Linked DNA regions of Homo sapiens: region 2 is linked to region 1. The links are contacts of gene promoters, found by promoter capture Hi-C in human tissues and cell types (Jung and others, 2019). All regions are on one chromosome and are shown on one strand. Each heading gives the region's core, a stretch centred on a gene start or on the middle of the fragment in contact. The rest is flanking DNA. Distances are from core to core; before and after follow the strand shown. Region 1 holds the start of CEBPD (CCAAT enhancer binding protein delta). Region 2 overlaps SPIDR (scaffold protein involved in DNA repair).

Region 1 (6,816 bases), core at 3,760-6,259:
GTCGGGCAGATCACCTGAGGTCAAGAGTTCCAGACCAGCCTGGCCAACATGGTGAAAACCCATCTCTATTAAAAATTAAAAAATTAGCCAGGCATGGTGGTGCGCACCTGTAATCCCAGCTACTTGGAAGGCTGAGGCAGGAGAACTGCTTGAACCCAGGAGGCAGAGGTTGCAGTGAGCCAAGCTCACACCACTCCATTCCAGCCTGGGTGACAGAGCAAGACTCAGTCTCAAAAAAAGTAATAAAAAATTTTAAACTCCATTTACAGGATAATATAGCCAAACCTAACATTTTACAAATAAATGATTTTTTGCTGGCTTTTTCCAAGTCAGAATTGCATACTTTTACTCCAGAAGACCATAGGGTCATCTGTTTCACACTTGCACAAACATGCAAGACTAACTGAAACTCTAAGACACCAGAAGGGTGTCCAGCGCATATGCCGCCTCCACCCTCCCTCCCCGTGCGGTGACCCTGCTTCTGCTTCTGTATCCCCTGGTGTCCCCTCCAGTCCAGCAGCCTGGAGACTGTCCTGCTCACTGCCATCTCTTCAGTGACGGGCCCACATGGGATCATAATAAACCCCATGTGTGAGCGAGTGAGCAGCTGCACTTGCCGTCCATGCCACCTCAGAGCCCTTGGGAAGGCCTCAGCTTCCATTACCAAGTTCCTTCTCTTTGCCTGTCTTGACCAGTGACACCCACTTCCCCCATCACTACATTAAACCATCCTGTTGACTTTATTCTTTTTCACCAAGGAAGCCAAAACTCTTGACAGAGCACACTGAATAGGCACCACGCCTGTCTTACAAATGGGAAAATCAAAGTCCCCCCACGAGTTGGCGTCAGTAGCGTTCACATCCCAGACTGATCCTGACATTTATTTTTACAAAACAAACCATCTCAAAACTTGGTGGCATCAATATTCATTCTGTGCACAGAACTCTTGTTTGGACAGGGCTTCATCCGGATAGCTCCACTGGGCATTAGCGGGTGCCCCCAAGGCCGGTGGGAGTCACAGAAGGCTCCTACGTCCAGGCCACAGCTCTGGCCGGACCCCCTCACAGCATGTGTGTGGATCCCACGGGCCAGCTGGAAGCTGGGCACCTTTCCTGACCAGGCGTGGAACATCACTTGGTGTCCCTTCCACCGCACTGTGTTCATGAGAAGCCAGACACTGAGGCCAGCTCAAACTCAGGGAAAGGCAGTGAGACTCACACCTTTGAAGGGAAGGGCACCAAGGAGCCACATTCTACCTGCTTTGGCCACGTTGTCTGGCTTCTCCAGCCTCAGTCTCTTTGGCCATGACACCATAACGATGGGAGGGGTGAGTTAATAGACACCAAACAGAACTGCTGTAGCAACTGCCAAATGCCTTGCACAGAGGAGGAGTGTGGGGTGCCCATGATATTACTCTGCAAGTGACATTGCCTTCTAGGGCTTTAATCTCCCAGAAAGCCAGAGATGGAATATCTCAGTGCTTCTGAGCCTTTATTTTCAGCCCTACCCGCAACAGCATTCTGCAGCTTGATCTATAATGGGGTGCACCACACCCTCTCAGCCTGGTCAGGGATGGGGGCCAAGGACTCCCTGTACCTGTCTCATCTGGAGACGAAACTCACCTGGGACTAACCAAAAAGAATTAGAAGAAAAAGCGAAGTCTCATTACAAAAACACAGAGGATTTTAGCCCAGTATAACTCTAGAAGAAATGGAATCCTATTAAGGAAGGAAGTTTGGGGCAAAGCACCAGGAAATCCCTCAACCGGAAGTGTTGCTAGATTGAGGAAGTGTCCTAAAGGAAGTGGGAGACAGCTGTGGGCACTGTGTGCCCAGCCCCGGCCTTCCCAGCAGAGTCTGTGTGCATCGTGTCCCAAGTAAAAACAATTCAGTTACCAGAATGGGGTAGTTCCTTCACTTGCTAAAATAAATGGGTGTGTGGGTGTGTGTGTGTGTGGGTGTGTGTGTGTGTGTGTGTGTGTAGTGGCTCTTCATTTGTTTCTCCTTCCTACCACTGTTCTCAGCCATTTGAGGAGTGGAAGGTCGTGGACTGGGGAAAGGGCCTTCCACTCTGGCTCTCTGGTTTTCCGTGTTGTTGGGAACAGTACGTCCCAGGCTGTTTGCTTTAACCAGCGTGCCTTTTATCACTGCAGAGCTACGAAGTGAAGAGTGTCCTCGGAAAGGAAGTGGGGTTGTTAAATTGTTTTGTCCAGTCCGTAACCGCCCACCCGACCAGCTGCATTGGATTGGAGGAAATCGAGCTTCTGAGTGCAGGAGGGGCCTCTGCAGAACACTAGCGGTTGCCGCAGGATCTGTGAACTTTGCAATGTGGCTGCAAGGGTGGTGGTGGTGGTGGTGATTTGGGGTAGTTATTTGTTAACTATGGACACAGTGAACGTAGTTTACGATCTTGAAATGAAACTTAGATTTTTCTGGGGAAATGTTCAGATACAGTTTTGTGAACTGTAAATCAAAATACCTTTTTCTACAGTTTATCTTTTATTTTCTGCAAATTTAGGAACATATTTACTCGTTTTCACATTGAATCTTAAGTTTAAGCTCTTCATTTGGTATTTAGGCAATATATGAGAAAAAAATTTTTTTTGTTCATTTGTAATTTTAACAAGTTGAACATTTTACCATGATTGAACATGTTTTTATTACAGTATTTAACATTCCCCCAAAGAATACCCTGCAAAGTGTAAACCTTTGTCCCATACTGTGATATTACTGTTCTGCTACAATAAATGTCAAACCTAAGCACTTTGCAGTTCACTACTTTTGGGAAAATGTTCTAGGGAACTGTATCACAGGTGAAACTGTTACCCATAAAGTGTAGCTCTCTGAACTGGTGTGATCGTGTCTCTGCTGAATGGTGGTGGGGATAGCTGGCTCCACCACACACACCTGTTTTAATTAGGCTGGGTAATGTGCACGGAGAGCAAAGATCACAGACTAAGGAGCAGTCAGTCGGATATTTGCTTTGCTGGCAAAGATTTAAACCAAGAATTAATTATCTTTGGACACTATAAAGATTTTGTTCCCTTCCTTATAGCAATATAATCATGACAGGCCATGGTTAACTACATCAGATACACGTAGCAGCCGTGACCAAGACATGGTGCCCTAATACCAAGTGTTCTTGGGTTAAAGGCAGGCGGCTTTTTAATTAAATCTTAAAGCACTGCAATTACTGGCAAGACAGCTGGTCTTAAGCAGTTTTGTGACTGCCCTTTTCATCCACTACATGACTATTCCGGCCTTTCTGGAGCACTTTTGAAAATCTACTTGACTCTGTCCACAAGACTGAGGAAAGTGAAAGCAAAGTCCCGGGAAAGCGGGAGATGATTCAGCCCGGGGTTCTGCCCCTCGCCCCTCCAGCAGCCTCTACAGTTAGGGAGCTCTTGAACTGTTCTCAGCAGGGGCCCCCAAAAAGTCAACCCTTCCCCAGGTCTGCGTTCTTCGGGAGAACACCTTCTGCTGGAAAGCTGCTAGCTTACCTGAGCTCAGCCGTGCTCCACCTAGCTTAGGCAAGTTAAATAAGGCCAGGAGAGAGCCTTTAATGCGTTTTAAAAGCGACAGACCCTCTCTCCTGAGTAGCTCGGGCCTGCGCCCCATCCCCCCGCCCCCCCCACACACACACCTGGCGCCCGGGCTCCCTGGTGCTCGCTGGCTGCGGGTCCGGAACGCACCCTTCCCGAGCCGGGTCCTGCGCCACCGGCGGGCGGGCGGGAGTCACTGCGAATATAGGAAGCAGGGGCGATTTCAAATGCTGCTTTATTCTTACAAATACTGTAAAAATTAATATAAAAAAGTGAGCATGCTCAGTCTTTTCCTCTTATCTACAATACAAAGGGTTTGTCTGAAAAGTCTGGTTTTTTTTCTTTTTACAAATGTACCTTAGCTGCATCAACAGGAGTAAGATGTAGAAAAAGCTACCATTACAAAAATAATTTAAGGGAAAATAAACACGTTTAGCTTCTCTCGCAGTTTAGTGGTGGTAAGTCCAGGCTGTAGCTTCTTTGCGCTCCTATGTCCCAAGAAACTGCAGCGGGCACCCGGCGGCTCTGGCTGCGCCAGGGCAGGGCGCGCTCCGCTCCGGGCCGTCGGGTCTGAGGTATGGGTCGTTGCTGAGTCTCTCCCGCCCCGGCCGCGCGTTACCGGCAGTCTGCTGTCCCGGCGGCCGGCAGGAAGGGCGGGCTGGGCAGCTGCTTGAAGAACTGCCGGAGGCCGGCCAGGTCCCGCGTGAGCTGCTCCACGCGCTGGTGCAGCTTCTCGTTCTCAGCCGACAGCTCCACCAACTTCTGCTGCATCTCCTGGTTGCGCCGCTTGGCCTTGTCGCGGCTCTTGCGCACGGCGATGTTGTTGCGCTCGCGCCGCTGCCGGTACTCGGGGCTGCCGCGGTCCGGGCCCCTCTTGCCGGCGCTCTTCTCCCGGGCGGGGCCGGGCGCGGGGGTCTGCCTGGGGCTGCTGCGCGGCGGCTCCGGCGACGTGGGCGGGGTGGGCTGCCCTGCGGCCGCCAAGCTCACCACGGTCTGTGCGCACGCGGCCACCTGCGCGGGCAACAGCGAGCCGGGCGCGTCGCCGTCGCCCCAGTCGGGCTCGCGCTTGAGCAGGCGGGGAGCGGCAGGGCCCGGGCCCAAGGGGCGCGCGGGGCCGCCGGGAAGAAGCTCCAGGGGCCCCGCGCCGCCCGCCTTGTGATTGCTGTTGAAGAGGTCGGCGAAGAGCTCGTCGTGGCACAGCTCCAGGGTGGGCACGGCGGCCATGGAGTCGATGTAGGCGCTGAAGTCGATGGCGCTCTCGTCGTCGTACATGGCGGGGGCGGCGGCGCCTGGCTCGCCTAGGGCCCCTGGCTCGGCCCCGCGGCCCGGCTTGCCCGCCCGGCCCGGTTCGTAGAAGGGCGCAGGCTCCGCAGGCCAGGGCGCGCCGCGCGCCGGGCCGTCCAGGCTGAAGAGCGCGGCGCTCATGGCGGCGTCGGGCCGGGCTCTGCGTCCAAGCGAGGCTGTCACCTCGCTGGGCCCAGCCCCGCCGCCTTTTCTAGCCCCGGCTGACGTGCACGCCCCGCCCCGACTCCGGCACCGCGGGGGCGCCCCGGGGCCGCGGGGGAAGGGGCGGGGGCGCCCTGGGAGCCCCCCGGAGCCGCCCCGAGCCTTCCCGGGGCGCGCCCCCTCTCAGTTCCTCCCCGGGGCCCCCTCCCCGGCCCTGGGGACCCCCAGCCCACGTTGCAGGAGGGTGCCCGCGCTGCTGCTCCCTCCCCGGCCCGGGCCGGCCTGCGCTGCGCTGCTGGGAATGACACTCCCTCTGCCAGCACTCCAGGGCCTTCTCTTCTTCCTGTTTGTGGGCTTGGAACCTCCTCGCTCCTCGGGGTTGGGAGTGAAATCAAAACCAGGACTTGGCCGCAGCGCGCGCGTCCCAGGCCGGCTCCTGTCGCCGGAGGGCGGGGGGTGGAGACCCGTGGGAGAGGACCCGCGCGTCCAAGGACGCCCCCCGACCGTGGGCACGCGCGTGAGGCCCTCGCCCCGCGCCTCCACCGTGGGACCAGATGCGGGAAGAGGCGTGGGGGACCAGACGTGGGGACAGCGGCGGCCTGGCAGGCGGGGAGGGCTGCCCGCACCGCACTCGGGCGCCTCGGGGAATCCGGGCCGGTTCTCGCTGCTCTCCTCGGAGGTCCCGGGTCCGGCCGGCCCTGGGGGTCGAGGCCCAGAGACGCGGCTGCTGCGTCCTGGCCGAAAGGCCGACGGGACGCTGTCGCCAAAAGCAGAGCAGATGGGGGAGACGCGGTCACGACACCGCGTCCTCCGCCGGCTCCTCGAGGTGCGGGCTCTCCGGCCGGACGCTACTCCCCGACCCCGCAGACCCGGGCGTCCGCCGCCAGCTCCCGCGCCCGCGTTTCTTCCAGGTCTACGGAAGCAGTGCCATCGTGTGGCGGCATCTTGCGTTAGACCTGTTTTTAGTTCCAGGCTCTTTCCCTGTTAAATATTCCAAAAAAGTGCCTTGAACCTAAAGTAGTTGGGTCCTTTTTGGGAAACAGGTAAGATCTACCAGTAGCTATAGCAGGGTGCAGATGGGCCTCGACTCACGATGGGGTTACATCCCGGTAGACCCATCGCACACTGAAAATGTCTTAAGTAAGAATGGGCTTTGTCATGTGTCCTGCAATTTGAGGCAGGCATTTCTGGTCAGACCCATTTATTATTTTAAATTAAAAATATGGTTTTTTTCAGCCGAGCACAGTGGCTCATGCCGGTAATCCCAGCATTTTGGGAGGCTGAGGTGGGCGGATCACTTGAGGTCAGGAGTTTGAAACCAGCCTGGTCAACATGGTGAAACCCCATTTCTACTAAAAATACAAAAATTAGCCAAGCGTAGTGGCGTGCGCCTGTAATCCCAGCTACTCGGGAGGCTGAGGCAGGAGAATCGCTTGAACCCGGGAGGCGGAGGTTGCAGTGAGCCGAGATCGTTCCATTGCACTCCAGCCTGGGCGACAGAGCGAGACTCCATCTCAAAAAAAAAATTGAGATGGGATCTCACAATATTGTCCAGGCTGGTTTCAAACTCCTGGGCTTAAGAGATTCGCCGGCCTCAGCCTCCCAAAGTGCTGGGATTACAGGCGTGAGCCACCATGTCGGGCCCAAATCCATTAAATCACTATCGCTAGTCACACCTGCTCCATGTCGAGTCTCTTCCTGCGCAGGCCTCTCACCAGATCTGCGTCGGAACACCAAGCTCTACTAACTGCTGTGCAGTTTCTGCAGTCAGTTCCAGAGGTCATTTCTAACGTTGCACTATGGGATATTTAATAGGTTTCCTAAAGAAC
Region 2 (6,676 bases), core at 1,062-3,561, 190 kb before region 1:
ATTGTGAATATTGCTGCAATAAACATATGTGTGCATGTGTCTTTATAGCAGCATGATTTATAATCCTTTGGGTATATACCCAGTAATGGGCTCGTTGGGTCAAATGGTATTTCTAGTTCTAGATCCTAGAGGAGTCGTCACACTCTCTTCCACAATAGTTGAACTAGTTTACAGTCCCACCAACAGTGTAAAAGTGTTCCTATTTCTGCACATCCTGTCCAGCACCTGTTGTTTCCTGACTTTTTAATGATTGCCATTCTAACTGGTGTGAGATACTATCTCATTGTGGTTTTGATTTGCATTTCTCTGATGGCCAGTGATGATGAGCATGTTTTCATATGTCTGTTGGCTGCATAAATGTCTTCCCTTGAGAAGTGTCTGTTCATATCCTTCACCCACTTTTTGATGGGGTTGTTTTTTCTTGTAAATTTGTTTGAGTTCTTTGTAGATTCTGGATATTAGCCCTTTTTCAGATGAGTAGATTGCAAAAATGTTCTCCTATTCTGTAGGTTGCCTGTTCACTCTGATGGTAGTTTCTTTTGCCGTGCAGAAGCTCTTTAGTTTAATTAGACCCCATTTGTCAATTTTGGCTTTCGTTGCCATTGCTTTGGGTGTTTTAGTCATGGAGTCCTTGCCCATGCCTATGTCCTGAATGGTATTGCCTAGGTTTTCTTCTAGGGTTTTTATGGTTTTAGGTCTAACATTTAAGTCTTTAATCCATCTTGAATTAATTTTTGTATAAGGTGTAAAGAAGGGATCCAGTTTCAGCTTTCTACATATGGCTAGCCAGTTTTCCCAGCACCATTTATTAAATAGGGAATCCTTTCCCCATTTCTTGTTTTTGTCAGATTTGTCAAAGATCAGGTGGTTGTAGATGTGTGGTATTATTTCTGAGGGCTCTGTTCTATTCCATTGGTCTGTATCTCTGTTTTGGTACCAGTACCATCCTGTTTTTGTTACTGTAGCCTTGTAGTATAGTTTAAAGTCAAGTAGTGTGATACCTCCAGCTTTGGTGATTTTGCTTAGGATTGTCTTTGCTATGCAGGCTCCTTTTTGGTTCCATATGAACTTTAAAGTAGTTTTTTCCAATTCTGTGAAGAAAGTCATTGGTAGCTTGATGCGGATGGCATTGAATCTATAAATTACCTTGGGCAGTATGGCCATTTTCACGATATTGATTCTTCCTATCCATGAGCATGGAATGTTCTTCCATTTGTTTGTGTCCTCTTTTATTTCATTGAGTAGTGGTTTGTAGTTCTCCCTGAAGAGGTCCTTCACATCCCTAGTAAGTTGGATTCCTAGGTTTTTTATTCTCTTTGAAGCAGTTGTGAATGGCAGTTCACTCATGATTTGGCTCTCCCTTTGTCTGTTATTGGTGTATATAGGAATGCTTGTGATTTTTGCACATTGATTTTGTATCCTGAGACTTTGCTGCAGTTGCTTATCAGCTTAAGGATCTTTGGGGCTGAGACAATGGGGTTTTCTAAATATACAATCATGGCATCTGCAAACAGGAACAATTTGACTTCCTCATTTCCTAATTGAATACCCTTTATTTCTTTCTCTTTCCTGATTGCCCTGGCCAGAACTTCCAACACTATATTGAATAGAAGTCGTGAAGGAGGGCATCCCTGTCTTGTGCCGGTTTTCAAAAGGAATGCTTCCAGCTTTTGCCCATTCAGTATGATATTGGCTGTGGGTTTGTCATAAATAGCTCTTATTATTTTGAGATATGTTCCATCAGTACCTAATTTATTGAGAGTTTTTAGCATGAAGCGTTGTTGAATTTTGTCAAAGGCCTTTTCTGCATCTATTGAGATAATCATGTGGTTTTTGTCTTTGGTTTTGTTTAATGTGATGGATTACATTTATTGATTTGCGTATGTTGAACCAGCCTTGCATCCCAGGGATGAAGCCAACTTGCTCGTGGTGGATAAGCTTTTTGATGTGCTGCTGGATTTGGTTTGCCAGTATTTTATTGAGGATTTTCACATGGATGTTCATCAGGGATATTGGTCTAAAATTCTCCTTTTTTGTTGTGTCTCTGCCAGGCTTTGGTATCAGGATGATGCTGGCCTCATAATATGAGTTAGGGAGGATTCCCTCTTTTTCTATTGATGTGAATAGTTTCAGAACCAATGGTACCAGCTCCTCTTTGTTCCTCTGGTGGAATTTGGCTGTGAATCCATCTGGTCCTGAACTTTTTTTGGTTGGTAGACTATTAATTATTGCCTCAATTTCAGAGCCTGTTATCAGTCTATTGAGAGATTCAACTTCTTCCTGGTTTAGTCTTGGGAGGGTGTATGTGTCCAGGAATGTATCCATTTCTTCTAGATTTTCTAGTTTATTTGTGTAGAGGTGTTTATAGTATTCTCTGATGATAGTTTGTATTTCTGTGGGATCGGTGGTGATATCCTTTTTATTATTTTTTATTACGTCTATCTGATTCTTCTCTCTTTTCTTCTTTATCAGTCTTGCTAGCGGTCTATCAATTTTGTCGATCATTTCAAAAAACCAGCTCCTGGATTCATTAATTTTTTGAAGGGTTTTTTGTGTCTCTATCTCCTTCAGTTCTGCTCAGATCTTAGTTATTTCTTGCCTTCTGCTAGCTTTTGAATTTTTTTGCTCTTGCTTCTCTAGTTCTTTTAATTGTGATGTTAGGGTGTCAATTTTAGAACTTTCCTGCTTTCTTTTATGGGCATTTAATGCTGTAAGTTTCCCTCTACACACTGCTTTGAATGTGTCCCAGAGATTCTGTTAGGTTGTGCCTTTGTTCTCATTGGTTTCAGAGAACATCTTTATTTCTGCCTTCATTTCGTTATGTACCCAGTAGTCATTCAGGAGCAGGTTGTTCAGTTCCCATGTAGTAGAGTGGTTTTGAGTGAGTTTCTTAATCCTGAGTTCTAGTTTGATTGCACTGTGGTCTGAGAGACAGTTTGTTACAATTTTTGTTCTTTTACATTTGCTGAGGAGTGCTTTACTTCCAACTATGTGGTCAATTTTGGAATAAGTGCGATGTGGTGCTGAGAAGAATATATAATCTGTTGATTTTGGGTGGAGAGTTCTGTAGATGTCTATTAGGTCTGCTAGGTGCAGAGCTGAGTTCAAGACCTGGATATCCTTGTTTACTTTCTGTCACGTTGATCTGTCTAATATTTACAGTGGGGTGTTAAAGTCTCCCATTATTATTGTGTGGGAGTCTAAGTCTCTTTATAGGTCTCTAAGTACTTCCTTTATGAATCTGGGTGCTCCTGTATTGGGTGCATATATATTTAAGATAGTTAGCTCTTCTTGTTGAATTGATCCCTTTACCATTATGTAATGGCCTTCTTTGTCTCTTTTGATCTTTGTTGTTTTATTAGAGACTAGGATTGCAACCCCTGCTTTTTTTTTGTTTTCCATTTGCTTGGTAGATCTTCCTCCATCCCTTTGTTTTGAGCCTATTTGTGTCTCTGCATGTGAGATGGGTCTCCTGAACACAGCACACTGATGTGTCTTGACTCTTTATCCAATTTGCCAGTCTGTGTCTTTTAATTGGAGCATTTAGCCCATTTACATTTAAGGTTAATATTGTTATGTATGAATTTGGTGCTGTCATTTTGATGTTAGCTGGTTATTTTGCTCATTAGTTGATGCAGTTTCTTCCTAGCATTGATGGTCTTTACAATTTGGCATGTTTTTGCAGTGGCTGGTACCAGTTGTTCCTTTCCATGTTTAGTGCTTCCTTCAGGAGCTCTTGCATGGCAGGCCTGGTGGTGACAAAAATCTCTCAACATTTGTTTGTCTGTAAAGGATTTTGTTTCTCCTTCATTTATGAAGCTTAGTTTGGCTGGGTATGAAATTCTGGGTTGAAAATTCTTTTCTTTAAGAATGTTGAATATCGGCCCCCACTCTCTTCTGGCTTGTGGAGTGTCTGCCAAGAGATCCGCTGTTAGTCTGATGGGCTTCCCTTTGTGGGTAACTCGACCTTTCTCTCTGGCTGCCCTTAACATTTTTTCTTCCATTTCAACCTTGGTGAATCTGACAATTATGTGTCTTGGGGTTGCTCTTCTCGAGGAGTGTCTTTGTGGCATTCTCTGTATTTCCTGAATTTGAATGTTGGGGAAGTTCTCCTGGATAATATCCTGAAGAGTGTTTTCCAACTTGGTTCCATTCTCCCCGTCACTTTCAGGTACACCAATCAGACATAGATTTGGTCTTTTCACATAGTCCCATATTTTTTGGAGGCATTGTTCGTTTCTTTTTACTCTTTTTTCTCTAAACTTCTCTTCTTGCTTCATTTCATTCATTTGGTCTTCAATCACTGATACCCTTTCTTCCAGTTGATTGAATCAGCTTCTGAAGCTTGTGTGTGCATCACGTAGTTCTCATGCCATGGTTTTCAGCTCCATCAGATCATGTAAGGTCTTCTCTACACTCTTTATTCTAGTTAGCCATTCGTCTAATCTTTTTTCAAGTTTTTTAGCTTCTTTGCGATGGGTTCGAACATCCTCCTTTAGCTCGGAGAAGTTTGTTGTTACGATCATCTGAAGCCTTCTTCTCTCAGTTTGTCAAAGTCATTCTCTGTCCAGCTTTGCTCTGTTGCTGGCAAGGAACTGTCTTCCTTTGGAGGAGAAGAGGCACTCTGATTTTTAGAATTTTCAGCTATTCTGCTTTGGTTTCTCCCCATCTTTGTGGTTTTAACTACTTTGGTCTTTGATGATGGTGATGTACCGATGGGGTTTTGGTGTGGATGTCCTTCCTGTTTGTTTGTTTTCCTTCCAACAATCAGGACCCTCAGCTGCAGGTCTGTTGGAGTTTGCTGGAGGTCCACTCCAGACCCTATTTGCCTTGGTATCATCAGCAGAGGCTGCAGAACAGCAAATACTGCAGAACGGCAAATGTTGCTGCCTGATCCTTCCTCTCAGATCTTCGTCTCAGTGGGGCACCTGGCTATATGAGGTTTCAGTCTGCCCCTACTGGGAGGTGTCTCCCAGTTAGGCTACTCGAGGGTCAGGGACCCACTTGAGGAGGCAGTCTGTCCGTTCTCAGATCTCAAACTCCGTGCTGGGAGAACCACTACTCTCTTCAAAGCTGTCAGACAGGTACGTTTAAGTCTGCAGAAATTGGCTGCTGCCTTTTGTTCAGCTATGCCCTGCCCCCAGAGGTGGAATCTGCATAAGCAGGCAGGCCTCCTTGAGCTGTGATAGGCTCCACCCAGTTTGAACTTCCCGGCACTTTGTTTACCTACTCAAGCCTCAGCAATGGCAGACGTCCCTCCCCCAGCCTCGCTGTCGCCTTGCAGTTCGATCTCAGACTGCTGTGCTAGCATTGAGCTAGGCTCCGTGGGCATGGAACCCTCTGAGCCATGCGCGGGATATAATCTCCTGGTGTGCCATTTGCTAAGACCATTTGGAAAAGTGCAGTATTAGGGTGGTAGTGTCCCGATTTTCTAGGTACTGTCTGTCACGGCTTCCCTTCCTAGGAAAGGGAATTCCCCGACCCCTTGCGCTTCCCGGGTGAGGCAGTGCCCCACCCTGCTTCGGCTCACACTTTGTGGGCTGCACCCACTGTCCGACAAGCCCCAGTGATATGAACCCTGTAACTCAGTTGGAAATGCAGAAATCACCTGTCTTCTGCGTCATTCACGCTTGGAGCTGTAGACTGGAGCTGTTCCTATTCAGCCATCTTGGAACCTCCTCTCTTCTTTGTGTTTAAATACATATTGCACAGTTAAATTTTCAAAAGCAGGTGGCCTGTAAGTTTGATCATTTGGAAATACCAGACTTTTATGCTTCCAGTTCTTGGTCTAGAAATTAATAGCAAATTTTTTTTCCTAAATCTTAGTCTTGATCTAACCTAGAGTACTTATGAGTAAACAAGTGGTATAAAGTGGTATAATCTGTTCCTTTCTATTCTGTCTTCTGTCTCTGTTTTGCTAGCCTTCCTCCCACTCTGTACTTATGATCATTATTTGACTTTCCCAAAGGGTAGATTTTAGAAGCTGTATATGGACTCCTAGAAATAAAGCAATTAGAATATGTTAGAAATGAATCCAGCCATGCCACTTTATTTCTATAAAATAACAATTCCAAGATAAGAATGACTTTCTCAAAGAATTGAGAAATATTCATTCCAGTATGTATCTCTTGGTGCCTAGGATGTGCCTAGTACTTGTTGCATACTGTAGAGATTCAATAAATAGAAGAGTCAACTCCAGTCCCTTGCATCACTAAAATCTCACTGGGGAAATAGACACGTTCTACAGAAGAAACTGGGAGATAGATACTTGTGTATAATAATATAATCTAGTAACTTTTAATTTGGTTCCTCAAAAATTGAGCAATAGAAGCAGTAATTTTTTAAAAATCTATAGTGTTAACAGCTGAAGTGTAATGGAACTCATGTTCCTTCCTGTGTATATTCCATTTTGATGGAGGTGCTAATAGTTGGAGCTAGGAGTGGGGTATGTGTATTCTTTGCACTGTATGATGTGGCTTCTTTGTGAAGGGAGACCTGTGATTTTCTGAATACATGGCCTGTATCCTCTCAATGGCCAGTGAGACATTCTCGAGGGGATGGGTATCAAGCCACTCTGTGAATGTGAGTTCTTACTCCATCTGGTAGAAATCACAGTAGCATGGAAATAATACCACACTGTAATTTCCAGCAAAGAAATTTTGGACAGTTATCAGAG

What was found. The method cuts DNA at HindIII sites, captures the fragments that hold promoters and counts their contacts. A contact is called where the count stands out against the background at its distance.
Region 2: a fragment that was not itself captured here is called in contact with the fragment with the promoter of CEBPD in region 1 in 4 of the 25 tissues and cell types used here (adrenal gland, aorta, dorsolateral prefrontal cortex and 1 more).

What each region holds. Positions count from the first base shown.
Region 1 is chr8:47,733,155-47,739,970 of GRCh38, forward strand. It overlaps CEBPD (CCAAT enhancer binding protein delta), which reads right to left and starts at 5,010. Exons shown (of 1, transcript NM_005195.4): 1 at 3,759-5,010. The coding sequence starts at 4,966. The coding sequence ends at 4,157. It overlaps SPIDR (scaffold protein involved in DNA repair), which reads left to right. Exons shown (of 20, transcript NM_001080394.4): 20 at 2,153-3,152. The coding sequence ends at 2,296. RefSeq lists an enhancer at 4,034-4,972 and silencers at 4,369-4,558, 5,049-5,158, 5,199-5,278, 5,369-5,838. The HindIII fragment of the contact is 24,041 bases long and covers 1-6,816 here.
Region 2 is chr8:47,549,204-47,555,879 of GRCh38, forward strand. All of the region lies in intron 8 of SPIDR (scaffold protein involved in DNA repair), which reads left to right. Among named protein-coding and RNA genes, the nearest start is that of CEBPD, 190 kb to the right of the region's middle. The HindIII fragment of the contact is 3,540 bases long and covers 542-4,081 here.